Regions from separate parts of the Homo sapiens genome. Here region 2 is linked to region 1. The links are contacts of gene promoters, found by promoter capture Hi-C in blood cells and fetal thymus (Javierre and others, 2016). All regions are on one chromosome and are shown on one strand. The core of a region is centred on a gene start or on the middle of the fragment in contact, and the rest is flanking DNA. Distances in the headings are between cores, read along the strand shown. Region 1 holds the start of PKD1L1-AS1 (PKD1L1 antisense RNA 1). Region 2 overlaps TNS3 (tensin 3).

Region 1 (7,086 bases), core at 2,848-5,347:
AGTTTAGTAGCTAGAGGGAAACTAAAAGTGATTGCTCATGTTCACACCTTGACAACACTCAGGCCCGAGTCCTTTGCTTTTATCAATGATCCTAGCTCCCTACTCTTGCTCATCCATGAATGCATAAATCCATCGATCACCCATCCACACACCTACTCACCAAACTAGTTACCTGTCCACCTATCCACCCACCCATCCATCCATCAATCCACTCATTTGTTCATTCATGCACTCACTCATTCAACAAAAAACTAAAGAATGCCCATTATATTCAGGCAATGGCGAAACAAAGATAATAACTGCTTCCTGCCTCAGGGAGCTCACAGTCCATAGGGGAAGACTGGCATATACAAATAATTGTGGCAATTTTTATATTTTGAATACAGTTTTTAAATTGGATATGTGATTTGTAAATCTGTAGCTTCTCCTTTTATTCTCTTAACAGCATCTCTACAGAGCAGAAGTTGTAAATTTTGATAAAGGCCAGTTTTTCAATGTTTTCTTTTATGGATTTTGCTGTTGGTGTCCTGGCTCAAATGAATTGCCAAACCCAAGGTCACATATTTTCTCCTATTATTTTCTTCTAGAATTTTTTTTGTTTCTTTGTTTTTGGTTTTTTTGTTTTTTTTTTTTGAGACAGAGTCTCACTCTGTCGCCCAGGCTGGAGTGCAGTGGCGTGATCTCAGATCACTGCAACCTCTGTCTCCCAGGTTCAAGTGATTCTCCTGCCTCAGTCTCCTGAGTAGCTGGGATTACAGGCGTGTGCCACCACACCCAGCTAATTTTGTATTTTTAGTAGAGACAGGGTTTCGTCATGTTGGTAAGGCTGGTCTCGAACTCCTGACCTCGTGATCCTCCCGCCTCAGCCTCCCAAAGTGCTGGGATTACAGACGTGAGCCACTGCACGTGGCCTTTCTTCTAGAATTTTTATAGTTCTATGTTTTACATTTAGGTTAATCATCTGTTTTAAGCTAATTTTAATGTAAGATGTGAGGTATGGAACAGAGTTCCTGTTTTTTATAAATGAATATCCAATTTTTCCAGCACAATTTTTTTGAAGAATATTTACTCCATTGAATTGGCTTTACAACTTTGTCAAAAAGCAATTGACTGTATCTGTGTGGATCTATATCTGGGTTCTCTATTCTACTCCATTGATCTTTCCTTTAGCCAATCCCATGAGGTCTTTTTCACTCTGTGGCAAATCTTAAAGTAGCATGGATGAGTCCTCCAGCTTTGTTCTGTTTTGACTGTAGGTGTTCTAGCTCTTTTGCCTTTCAATATGTTTTAGAATCATCTTGTTACTATCTTTTTAAAAAATCATGTTGGTGTTTTGATTGAACTTGCTGTGGAATTATAAATCAAATTTGGGGGGAATTGGCATCCTAATAATATTAAGCTTTTTTGATCCTAGAATTCTGTATTTCTCTCCATTTATTTAGATACTCTTTGATTTTTTTCATCACTGTTTTATAGTTCTCAGCATACAGATCCTACACAATGATAGGCAATTTTAAAGCCTAACTAGAAGTGTCCTCAAAGAGCAAGAAACTTAGATCAGAGACTCATTTATTCTTCCTAGGGAGACCAGGAAATCTTCATACAACAGGAGAGTGAGCCTTGATGAGCAGTTCCACTCATGGTGATGACTGCTGAGAGCAGCATTTTAGACAGGGGGCATGCAGGGAGGGCCATGCTGGAGTTCTGGGTCAAGTGGGCATTATGTTGAAAAGGATGGTTGGAGTCAGGAATGGAGGGCCTTGAATGTCGTGCTTAGGCACCTGGATGCTATCTTCTGAGACAGGCAGGCAATATTGCATTGAGGTCTCTGGGTGGAAGAGTCAGGTCTTGCTGTCTGCCATGGGTGTGTTGCTGGTAAATCCAGGAGGCCTCAGACCTACACACCAATGGCCTACCCTTTCAGGCTCCTGAGCATCTTTGCAGAGTTCTGAAATTTTGTGAGGGGTTCGAGGGATTTGGGGACCAATCAAGAACAAACATATGACCACAAGAGATGATAACACACACAAGCTTTATCTGGGTAATGTTTTGAAGTGTTTCCATGTGGGGGAACTCCCTCATACTTCATGCTATGAAACTGTCCACAGGTTTACAGCGTAGGGGCCAAGAACCATCCAAAAAGGAAGAAGAGCAAGGGCGATCTCAGGGGAGAGGGGCAGCAGAGAGAGAGCTTACCCCTTAGACGATGCTGCTTAGCAGCATGGAGGGGAGGCTCTGGGTCAGAAAGCTCCTGAAGCCAGCAGCAGCTTGGGGCCTTATAACATTATCAGTGGGTAACAGCTGTCCCCTGAGGTTTTGCAGGGTGTGTAAAGCTGACAGGCTCTAAATGGCTAAAATGTTTGTTTGGGTGTTTTTTTTTTTTTTTTTGAGACGGAGTCTTGCTCTGTCGCCCAGGCTGGAGTGCAGTGGCGCAATCTCTGCTCACTGCAAGCTCCGCCTCCCGGATTCACGCCATTCTTCTGCCTCAGCCTCCCGAGTAGCTGGGACTACAGGTGCCCACCACCACACCCAGCTAATTTTTTTTTTTTTTTTTTTTGTAATTTAGGAGAGACAGGGTTTCACCATGTTAGCCAGGATGGTTTCAATCTCCTGACCTCATGATCCGCCTGCCTTGGCCTCCCAAAGTGCTGGGATTACAGGCATGAGCCACTGCGCCCAGCCCTGTTTGGGTTATTTTTTAAACAATTGGATGTGTAAAAATTCGAGTTTGTTACCAGTAGGCTTTTGAGCTAACAGCTTACAGCCTGCAGTGAAGAAATAAACCACCTGGAGGCTTATAGAGCACATGTTGAGGGCACAACAACTTGCTGAGCCCAAGACCCTTTCTGGTCTCCCAGGCACAGGCACAGGCCTCTCTCCTGAGGCTCACCCACAGCTCAGAATGGTTCACCAGGGGACACTGAAACTGAGACACAGACTTTACATATGGGCATGCACATCGCGTTGATAATCTCAGTCTCCAAAGTTAGATACTGAAAACAACCTTTATAATACAATGAATTTCCATTGCTGAGATCATCTTACTGCCATTTAGTTCAATTCAGGAGAGGTATTTTCCTGATTTTGCTTTTTTTCACCAAGAAATCACTATTTTACCAAAAGCTCGTAAAGTAGCATCATCAGATATAATCTCCATTGCATAGTTTATCACGTTAACAAAGCTCTTTATTTAGGCTGCTAACATGAAATTTGTCTTTATTTTTTTCTTTTTCCTAGCTGAGAGGTTTTCTCATGACTTTACCCCAAAAAAGAAAATCTTTTCAAAGTAAATCTTTTGTGAGACTTAAAGATGTCACTGCTTATATGTGGGAAAAGGTCCTCACCTTTCTGAGACTGGAAACACCAAAGTTGGAAGAGGCTGAGATGGTTGAGAATCACGTAAGCTGTGAGATCTTGGATTACTGAGCATGATAGCACACACTCAAGATGATGGTTTCATTGCAGAATTTTGCTTTCAGTTATCAAAGCATGAGTATGTTTCCATGCCAAATCTCCTTGCAAAGCCACAAAATTAGTCTCAATCATAGTGGAACTCATGGAATTTTCCCGTGCAATTCTAAAACACTTTACAGATTACCAAGCACATTCTCCTGCCTTAACTCACTATATCCTTATAGTGACCTGTACAGTTGGAAAGACAGAGTTTATGGTCTTCCCCAGGACACAGACATGCTGTATTCTGTCCCCTGAGTTAGTCATTTGCTTTTGGTGCCTGCTATCAAACCCAAACTTCTATCCAAAACATAGAGCCTTAGGTGCATTACTTGAGTTCAGTCACCCCAGACATGCATGTAAACAAATCAAACCAGGCGTTTGCACACTGAATACTCACTTTCTTCATGGCTGATATATTAGTTTGTTTTCATACTGCTGATAAAGACATACCCAAAACTGGGAACAAAAAGAAGTTTAATTGGACTTACATTTCCACATGACTTGGGAGGCCTCAGGTTCATGGTGGGAGGTGAAAGGCACTTCTTACATGGTGGTGGCAAGAGAAAAATGATCCAGATGCAAAAGTGGAAACCCATTATAAATGATCAGATCTTGTGAGACTTCTTCACTATCACAAGAATAGCATGAGAAAGACCAGCCCCTATGATTCAATTACCTCCCACTAGGTCCCTCCCACAACATGTGGGAATTCTGGGAGATATAATTCTAGTTGAGATTTGAATAGGGACACAGCCAAACAATATCATTCTGCTCCTGGCCCCCTCCAAATCTCATGTCCTCACATTTCAAAACCAATTATGCCTTCCCAAAAGTCCCCCAAAGTCTTAACTCATTTTAGCATTAACCCAAAAGTCCACAGTCCAAAGTGTCATCTGAGACAAGGCAAGTCCCTTCCACCTATGAGCCTGTAAAATAAAAAATAAGTTAGTTACTTCCTAGATACAATGGGGGTACAGGGATTGGGTAAATACAACTGTTCCAAATGGGAGAAATTGGCCAAAACCAAGGGGTTACAGGCCCCATACCAGTCCAAAATCCAACAGGTCAATCAAATTTTAAAGCTCCAAAATGATCTCCTTTGATTCCAGGGCTCACATGTAGGTGATGCTGATGCCAGAGGTGGGTTCCCATGGTCTTGGGCAGCTCTGCCCCTGTAGCTTTGCAGGGTACAGCCTCCTTCCTGGCTGCTTTCATGGGCTGGCATTGAGTGTCTGTGGCTTTTCCAGGTGCACAGTGCAAGTTGTCAGAGGATCCACCATTCTGGAGTCTGGAGGATGGTGGCCCTCTTCTCACAGCTCCACTAGGTCCCTTCCACACTGCCCTAGCAGTTCTCCATAAGGGCCCCGCCCCTGCAGAAAACTTTTGCCTGGGTATCCAGGCATTTCCATACATCTTCTGAAATCTAGGCTGAGGTTCCTAAACCTCAATTCTTGACTTCTGTGCACCCATAGGCTCAATACCACATGGAAGCTGCCAAGGCTTGGGGGTTCCACTCTCTGAAGCCCCAGCCCAAGTTGTACAATGGCCCCTTTCGGCCATGGCTGGAGCAACTGGGACACAGGGCACCAAGTCTCTAGGCTGCACACAGCACGGGGAACCTGGGCCCAGTCCACTAAACCACTTATTCCTCCTTGGCATCCAGGCCTATGATGGGAGAGGCTGCTGTGAAGGTCTCTGACATGACTTGGCGACATTTTCCCCATGGCCTTGGGGATTAACATTAGGCTGCTTGCTACTTATGCAAATTTCTGCAGCTGGCTTGAACTTCTCCCCAGAAAATGAGTTTTTCTTTTCCACTGCATTGTCAGGCTGCAAATTTCTTTAACTTTTATGTTCCATTTCCCATTTAAAACGGAATGCTTTTAACAGCACCCAAGTCACCTTTTGAATGCTTTGCTGCTTAGAAATTTCTTCTGCCAGATACCCTAAAAATCATCTCTCTCAAGTTCTAAGTTCCACAAATCTCTAGGGTGGGGCAAAATGCTGCCAGTCTCTTGCTAAAACATAACAGGAGTCACCTTTGCTCCAGTTCCCAACAAGTTCCTTATCTCCATCTGAGACCACCTCAGCCTGGACTTTATTTTTCATATCACTATCAGCATTTTTGTCAGAGTCATTCCACAAGTCTCTAGGAGGTTCCAAACTTTCCCACATTTTCCTGTCTTCTTCTGAGCCCTCCAAACTGTTCCAACCTCTGCCTGTTATCAAGTTCCAAAGTCACTTTCACATTTTTGGGTATCTTTTCAGCAACACCCCACTCTACTGGTACCAATTTACTGTTTTAGTTCATTTTCAAGCTGCTGATAAAGATATAACTGAAACTGGGGACAAAAAGATATTTAATTGGACTTACAGTTCCACATGGCTGGGGAGGCCTCAGAATCATGGCGAGAGGTGAAAGGCACATCTTACGTGGCAGTGGCAAGAGAAAAATGAGCAAGATGCAAAAGCGGAAACACCTGATAAGCCATCAGATCTCATGAGATCTTATTCACTATCACAAGAATAGCACGGGAAAGACCAGCCCCCATGATTCAATTACCTCCCCCCAGGTCCCTCCCACAACACAGGAATTCTGGGAGATACAATTCAAGTTGAGATTTGAATGGGGACACAACCAAACCATATCAGGTGATATTTAAGCATCATCCAGTAAGGTTCTGAAGGCAGTCATATGTAATCACGGTACTGTACATTTTGATAGGGCTTTATTCTCTGTCATGTGCTTCCCCATCCATTATTGCCTTATTTTTTTAATAGTGCTCAATAAAGATTTATTAATCGAAGGGATGAAAGAATGACCTTATTTTCCCATAGCAGCATGATGCATTACTGCCTTTAAATCCATTCAATAGTTTTTTTTATGTAGGCATTATTAACTGTAGCATTTACATGTATATCTGTATACGTACATTATTATTGAAGCAACTGAGATATAGAGATGTAAGAGTAGGCCCAGCACCCAGGTCTTCTAACTGCAGGCAGAGTCAGTATGTTTCCTAACATAGCCCAATACTGTCTACAGATGATACCCCTAAATGCTTCACATAATGAGGAAAGGGGGATAATGAGATTCTTGAATGCATTTACTAATCTAATTTTCTTCCCTTCAGAATTACTACTTGGATGAATTTGCAAATCTGTTAGACGAACTTCTGATGAAGATTAATGGTTTGTCCGACAGCCTACAACTCCCCCTTCTGGAAAAAACATCCAACAACACAGGGGAGGCAAGGACAGAAGAGAGTCCCTTAGTGGACATTTCTAGTTACCAAGCTGCTGAGGTAAGACCATGCAAAATTATTTATGTCAATTTTCTTCATAGCAATTTAAGTTCTAAAGGAGTTTTGGAATAGTTGTTTTTCCAAATTATAAGGTCCATTTGCATAAATATTCTTTAGATATCATACTGCTGATAAGATATGCTCTGGCCAGAACTAAAGAACCACTTAAAAATTTAAAGTCCATGATGTGACTTCCAGTTGAAAATGGTAGCATAAGTATCTGTCTGCCCCTTATTTCTGATTACAACTGAAATCAACAAGGAGACTGAGAAACAGAAATGGAAACTCGATCTTCCCAGAAACAAAAAAAAACCCAGAAATCTAT
Region 2 (7,086 bases), core at 3,219-5,718, 310 kb after region 1:
CCTCCCGGGAGCAGCTGGCGGAGTTCATTTTTGTGTGTTTCTAGGCATTTCAACTCCTGCCTTTCTGCGCACTGTGTGTGTGTCTGTGCACCCTCAACTCCAAATTACCCTGGAACTTTCCGAAGCCCGCAGGCTTCCTTTCTGTTCTTAATAAAGCGGTGTGCAAGGATCTGAGCTGTTAACCCTCCCTTATCACTGGAAACTGCCCCCTGTTCAGAAGGTCTTTAGAATAACAAACTCACAACTGTGTCTTTCAGGGGAGGTGGAGTGGATAGAATGGCTGAATGGTTGCAATACTGTGATGTGAGAAATTCTGCTTTCAGAATCTTTATCTAAAACCTTTCGCTTTTTCAGAGGTTTCTTTACTTCTAAAAAGCATTTGGAGGGGAGTCGATTGAACCTCAGGAGGTTGGTTAGAAAGCTTAGCACTGCCCAGCAAGAGCTGGAGTGGCCCAACCTTGAACAATGGGTGGGGTCAGTAGGAAGTAGACTTGTGGGCATTTTAAAGGTAGACCTGTTAGGATTGGCATACCCACCCGGTGGGTCAGAGGCACGGCTTGTGAGTAATCCTTAGGTTTTGAATTTGAGACACTGGGCAGAGAGGAATGCCACTGGCAGGATTTTGTGAACAGGGGTGGAAGTTTAGCTTTAGACCTGCAGGAACCAGTTTAGGTTTCATGGAATATGTTTATGTGGACATTAGAGTTAAATGGAATGCCATTATCAAGATTTTGTGAACAGGGGTGGCAGTTTAGCTTCAGACCAGCAGGAACTAGTTTGGGTTTCATGAAATATGCTTATGTGGACATTAGAGTTGGCCAGTTGGCCATTTGCAGCTCAATGCTTAATTTTAAAAGATTTGATAAGTTGTGAGCTCTTAGGGTTTCTCATGTTTTCTTTTCTTGTCAGCTTTTTTTTTTTTTTGAGACGGAGTCTCGCTCTGTTGCCCAGGCTGGAGTGCAGTGGCGCGATCTCGGCTCATTGCAAGCTCCGCCTCCTGGGTTCATGCCATTCTCCTGCCTCAGCCTCCCAAGTAGCTGGGACTACAGGCGCCCGCCACCATGCCCGGCTATTTTTTTTTTTTTTTTTGTATTTTTAGTAGAGACAGGGTTTCAGCGTGTTAGCCAGGATGGTCTCGATCTCCTGACCTCGTGATCCACCCGCCTTGGCCTCCCAAAGTGCTGGGATTACAGGTGTGAGCCACCGCGCCCGGCCTCTTGTCAGCCTTCTTTAGAGCAAAGGACAGTTGGTAAAACCCAAACTGTTCATCATGTGATTGTTAAACACTCTTGCCAAAATGTATTTCAGGGAAAATTTCTCTGGTGCCTACCTTTGTGGAATTTACCATTTTCTTCCCTGAATAACTGTTGTATGTTTATACCTTTTCTTCCATTTTAAACTGAATTTCGAAGGCAACTGCTAATTCTTTCTCATCTCCGAGTGCCCCGAAGTGTGATATTTGATATGCCATTCTGCAATGAATGAATGAATGAGAGGTTGAGACAACTGACCCAAAGTCTGGCGAAGTGACCAGCTCACTTATTTGTGCTATTCCTTTTCTTTACGGATGACCACTGAACATTGACTGTCAGAGCTCTGCGCTTCACTCTGGAGGGTGGTTTTATTCGAGATCTGGGCATCCCCTCCCTAGGGGTGACCACTTCCTCTGCCTTGTCATTAGCAACAGGTCAGTGGAAGCCAGGGCTTGATATGAAGAGCCTGCTATTGATTTCATATGGAAACCTCAGATGCCACAGACCCCCAAGAAGCAGGAGCTGGGGGTGGCATTAGCTGATGTCATCGCCCGAGGCTCTGCTCCCTGTGAGCTCAGTGCCGTCCTGATGAACGGGCCTTGGCTCTCACAGGCAGTGGGAGCTCCTCCTGCTCCAGAGCTCCATGTCCGGAACCCCGCCTTTCTCAGCATGAGGCTGGCGTGGTTGAAAATACAAACACCTGCTTGCCTGCTCCCTGGTGGATGTGGGGCCCACCCCTCATTTTAAAAGCCTCGGAAAACTGTGCTTTGTTTTAGTGTTACTGCCTCCTTGGACCTTTTCCTTTAAAATAAGAAGAGGATATTACAAAATCACAGGAGCAGAGGGTCATAACATTTCTGTGCTCTTCTCTTGAAGCAGAAATAAAAGCACATCTTATTTGTGTGTCTCCTGAAGAAGGGGCCTTGCCACTGGGCCTTGAGGCACAGGCACCTGCCCAGTAGGAGGTGGGCAGGTGGTTTTCCAGGCAGAGGGAGCAGCCTGGGCTGAGGCTCACAGGTGGGAGGTAGGGTTAGGCAAGGGAGTTGAGCCTGGACTATGTTGGCTGCAGGTGAGGAAAGAGGATAAGAAGAGATCAGGTGTGGGGAGCTGACAGTGCCAGGCCCTGGAGTCTACCGTGCGGCAGGCAGGGCAGCCTGCCGATATGCGGCTGTGTCCTCCATGAAGGCCTGCGCACCAGGCACATGGGCTCCAAACCCAGCCTTCCTGCTGCTGGCCAAACAGAGAGCTGTGGTGAGGGGCTGCCCCCACTGTGGGGTGGCCAGAGCCATGACAGAAAGCCAGTGTAGGGTGGACATGAGATGATGACTCCCTGTCATTCGTGAGTGGGATTAGGAGTCACTGGCACACAGTTGGAAAGGGAGCCATTTCTGGTGCCAATAGTTAAGGTCCCCACTCAGTAGGCCCCTACAGCTTCTTCAGAGTCAGGTATTTTAACTTGTATGTTAAACATGAATAAATCAAAGCAAAATCAAAAAGCGTTCCTTCATTTGCTTAGACTACCAGTTGAGTGTTTTAGAATGTTCATGGTGTCAGGCATGGCATCTGGACCCGTCCTTCCAGGAGCCTGTAGGATCGCTCTCAGGAACTGGCTGTGATTGATGGGGCCATGCACACATCAACATACACCCGGGGCCATCTCTGTAGGACATGACTCTCGGGTTTCACCGTCCCACTCAGGCCTATGGTCTTGGGCAGTGGTTCCTCCCTGCCTTCCTTCAGGTGAACAGGACGGGGCGAGGGACATGTCTGTTTTGCCCCTGGTTAAGTATTATCATGAATCAGTCTCATTGCTGCAGCCTCATCATCAGAAAATTGTCCAGGAAATGCCTAGTCTGAAAAATATGGAGTTCGTGTTTCAGGAGAGAGGCAAAGTCTGTATGGCCGACTGAGATGGCCTTCGGTAACTATGCTGCTGTCTTTGAAAGGCCGTGGGGTCCCCTTTCACCCTCACTCCAATCTGACAGTGTATATTTGATATAGTCCCACTGTCAAGACTTTCCTATGAGCTTGAGGTTCACATCCACCCCGCGAGGTCGTATTATCCCTATGTCACAGATGAGGAGGAAAATTGAGTTCACAGAGGACAGTCTCCGTAAATTCATCAGAGCCAGCTGGGAGAAGCAGAGGGCTTGCCCTAATTTCAGTCTCTGGATGCAAAGACAGAGCTTTTTCGGTTCTGTCCAGTCACTCTGGGGCTTGAAACAGTATATATATGGTTTAAAATACATATTTGTTTAAAACCGAAGCTTACATTCAAGAACACCACATACCGTGCATGTTCAGCCTGATGCATTTTTTGGTGAATCGCAGCGTAGATGGACGAGAGGCTGCCCCTCTGCCTCTCTGCCCACTGGCTAGTGTCCTGGGTCATGTCTGCCCGCCTCGTGCTGAAGCCACAGCCGCGCTCTGTCGGCCTCTTGCCCCCACCATCGGCGGCTGAAATCTCCTCATCTGTGACAGCTCATGGCCTCATTGCTGCTGTTGGCTTTTTCAAGTGCTGATTTTGAGCCCCTTTCCTCTACTTCCCGACACAGAGCACTGAAGGATGGCATTCTGGTGCCCAACACACTCGTCTGGGCATGCTGGGGCTGTGCGCATTGCTGGGCACACTATTTCTGTTCTCTGTTGTTGCCTAACAAATCCCCTGTACACTCAGTGGCTGAAACCAACAAGCTGTGATGGATTCGTGAGCTGGCTGGGCAGTGCTTGCTTCATGTGGTGCTGACAGGGGGACTGGGTGGCCAGAAGGTCACAAACGCCCTCATGCCCATTTCCAACGATTGGCACTGGGCACCTCGGTGCCCCCTTGTAGGTGTCTCCATGCGGCTGTTCAGGCTTCCCTTCATTATGGGGGCTGGGCCCAAGAATGGGATGCTCCAGGCGAAGGCGGCAACTGCAGCTGTCTAAGGCCAGGCTTCGGAGTTCTGCCATATTCCACCACTCACAGCAGGCCACAGGGCAAACCCAGGACGAGCCCAGACTCAAGAGGAACAGGGACAGACTCTACCTCTTGATGGGGGAATGGCAGAGTTCCTTTACAGAAGACCCTGTGTGATGCCACCGTCTTTGAAAACACAACCTACTAAACTTATTCAGGCAATAGCATGCAGGGATGTTATTGTAGAGGTAATCATCAGTCTCTTCTGATGAATTAAAATGTAAATTACTCACAAATGTCAGTGTCAGTACTTTATTACTTTATTATTAATTATAGGTGGCCGGTGAGAATTATAGGCTGATCAGATGTAGCTGGTGAGGAATGCATGAGTTGGGACCTGGATTTTCCTTGTGGAAATGGATCCAGTAATGTGGATGCAGTTAAATCTTGGTCCTTGGCATTATAATGCTCTAATAAAAAGACGGTTCATCAACTCAATACTACCTTTTAATCTTTCTGCAATTAGGTTGGATTTATGATTTATGAGTTTTTCTTCTTGCTTTTTTTGCAAGCCATTAGCATTTTATCAATCACCAGATGTCCTCTTTCTCTTTTTGAAAAGATAAGGCGTAGGACTGTGGTAAGTGTTGGCCTTCAGGGGTCTGTAGACCCTGATTCTGCCTCTGCGGGCCTCGGCTGCACCATGAGATGCTTGGCCTCCCTGCTCAGCCCTGGTCTTGTAAGACAGACTCACTGCAGGAAGGCGTTTGGGCCCCCGAGCGATCCTGTGCTGTGCCCTTTGCTGGGACTTGTGTATACAGCATGCAAGTGATCCTGAAAGTGCTTTTCAGCCACTTCGAGAATCCCCTGGACATTGTTCCAACAATAGGTTCACATTTGATTTCTGATCTGAGACAAATAATGGTGACATAATGGATACAGGATACTATGCTTTTGCTTTAAATCTATTATATTCCCTACCAGTGGTAACTTGTTTGCCTGAGGCCAGCGAAGGCCTGGCCCTGCCTTGTGGGCCATGGGCCTCAACTGGGTAAAGGTAGCCAATGTTAAACAGCTACACAGCCTAAGTAAAGAATGAAAAAGAAGGTTCCAGTAGGTTCAGCTAAGCCCATCTGGGATAGGGGCACTACTCTTTTGTCTAAAAATTATTAGATTCCATAGAGTTGGATTGAAAGGGGAAACTGAGGCCCCTAGAGGTGAGAAGAGCCGAGACCAAGCCAAGACCAAGGACTGGGAAAGCTTGAGCCTTTCTTTTTTCATTTTACTGTGCCACAGACATGATCTTCACTAGCTGCTTGTTAACTGTAAGGAAAAATATAATGACCTGATTCTGGGAATTTTCCTTCTCTTTCTCTTCCGCTCCTGTCCCGGTTCTCAGCCCGCAGGCTGAGAAGGTTTAATTGCGTCTGCCGGGCGGGTGTTTTCTCATGGGGATTAGAGCAGGCTAAATTGGGCTTTGACGCTTAGTGGGATAACAGAGCTTCCTGAGGAATGTGAACCTAATTAGGGATTCCAGGGTCAAGCCTGACAAAGGAGACACAGAAGCAAAGTTAGGGTGAGCTCTTGAAGGAAGCAGAGAAAGTTAATAAAGTCTCGAATGTCCTCATTTTGTACTGCCATTCTTTGTATAGATCTGCTGTTGTTTGCAGGCTTGTGTTGAAAATCTGACCCTGGGCCTCTCTTCAACCCTCTACCTAGCCCCCTGTCCCCAGGCACCATTGGAAAAGCAGCCTTGAATGATGAGTAAGGCCACCTTCGGCATGTCAGGAGCCCCCGGCCTCACCTGGGGGACCCAGCTCTTGTTGGTGTGCCCAGAACGTTCTGTGTCGACCTGACGTCTCCACCCGTCCTGTCAGACCTTTGATTGTTAGTGCTGGGGGGTTGCATTTTGTTTCCCCAAATTCAAATGTTGAAGTCCAAATCCCCAGGACCCCAGAGTATGGCAGGATTTGGAGATAAGGTCTTTAAAGAGGTAATTAGGTTGAAATAGGGTCATTAGGATGGGCCTAATCCAGTATGACTGGTGTCCTTAGAAAGACTGGGACACAGACACACACAAGGAATGGCCACGTGAGGACACGGGGAGAAGGTGGCCATCTGCAGGCCCGGGAGAGAGGCCTCAGGAGGAACCACCCTGCCCACATCTTCATCTCAGCCTCCTAGCCTCCAGGACTATGGGAGGATAAACGGCTGTGGTGTCAGCTGCCCATTCTGTGGTATGTTGTTACAACAGCCGCCCCTTACCCGAGCTAAGACTGTTGCTTATTTAAGCAGATAAACACTTGGGTCAGTGTCAGCACTGGGAATGAGGGGACTTTCCTTCTGTGATTATTCTCCTTACCCTGCCCTTGTAATAAATGATAATAATGGTAATATAAACACATGAACAATGCATCCTTTTTCAATCTTAACTAATGGGTGAATTAAAGATCTTGCTAGTTTATTGATCAGTAACATACAATGTAAGAAGTCAAAGCTGTGGTATAATAGAAGTGGCCCTTCGTAAAAGCTCCACCCTCCTTGCAACCAGGCTGCTACTCCGTGTAGAGATTATAGAAGAGTCCCAACCCCCAATTATATCGTAAGGTCCTGGTGGTCAGCAAATATTTGGCGTCCGTATCTGTTTTTCCCTGGCTAGTTCAGGGCCTCAGAGGTAGGTTACCTCTGACTGTTTTTATGACTTAGGAAAGAAAGTACTGCCATCTTGGCGCCATCACGAAGTTTCTTTAAAAAGAATTGTTTTTGTAAAGATAAAATAAAAGTAAACTTCATTTCTGAGTCTTTGCAACTTATCTTAGAGTTAAAACTATTATGATTAAAGTAATTTTATGTATGATAGAACTTGTGCATAAGGTGATGTCTCTGTACTTGGCTTAACTCAGTGAATTGCTTTCTCCCTTGTCTGCAAGGTTT

The links. Contacts are between HindIII fragments. The CHiCAGO score rates a contact against its expected background, and 5 or more counts as called.
Region 2: a fragment that was not itself captured here is called in contact with the fragment with the promoter of PKD1L1-AS1 in region 1 in 9 of 17 cell types (naive B cells, total B cells, M2 macrophages and 6 more); the score reaches 25.6 in naive B cells.

What each region holds. Positions count from the first base shown.
Region 1 is chr7:47,792,302-47,799,387 of GRCh38, reverse strand. PKD1L1-AS1 (PKD1L1 antisense RNA 1) reads right to left here and starts at 4,097. Exons shown (of 4, transcript NR_161269.1): 1 at 3,945-4,097. PKD1L1 (polycystin 1 like 1, transient receptor potential channel interacting) reads left to right here. Exons shown (of 57, transcript NM_138295.5): 55 at 3,238-3,399; 56 at 6,591-6,761. The HindIII fragment of the contact is 8,231 bases long and covers 2,034-7,086 here.
Region 2 is chr7:47,487,666-47,494,751 of GRCh38, reverse strand. All of the region lies in intron 3 of TNS3 (tensin 3), which reads left to right. Among named protein-coding and RNA genes, the nearest start is that of SNORD151, 26 kb to the right of the region's middle. RefSeq lists enhancers at 572-1,163, 5,692-6,238. The HindIII fragment of the contact is 1,892 bases long and covers 3,523-5,414 here.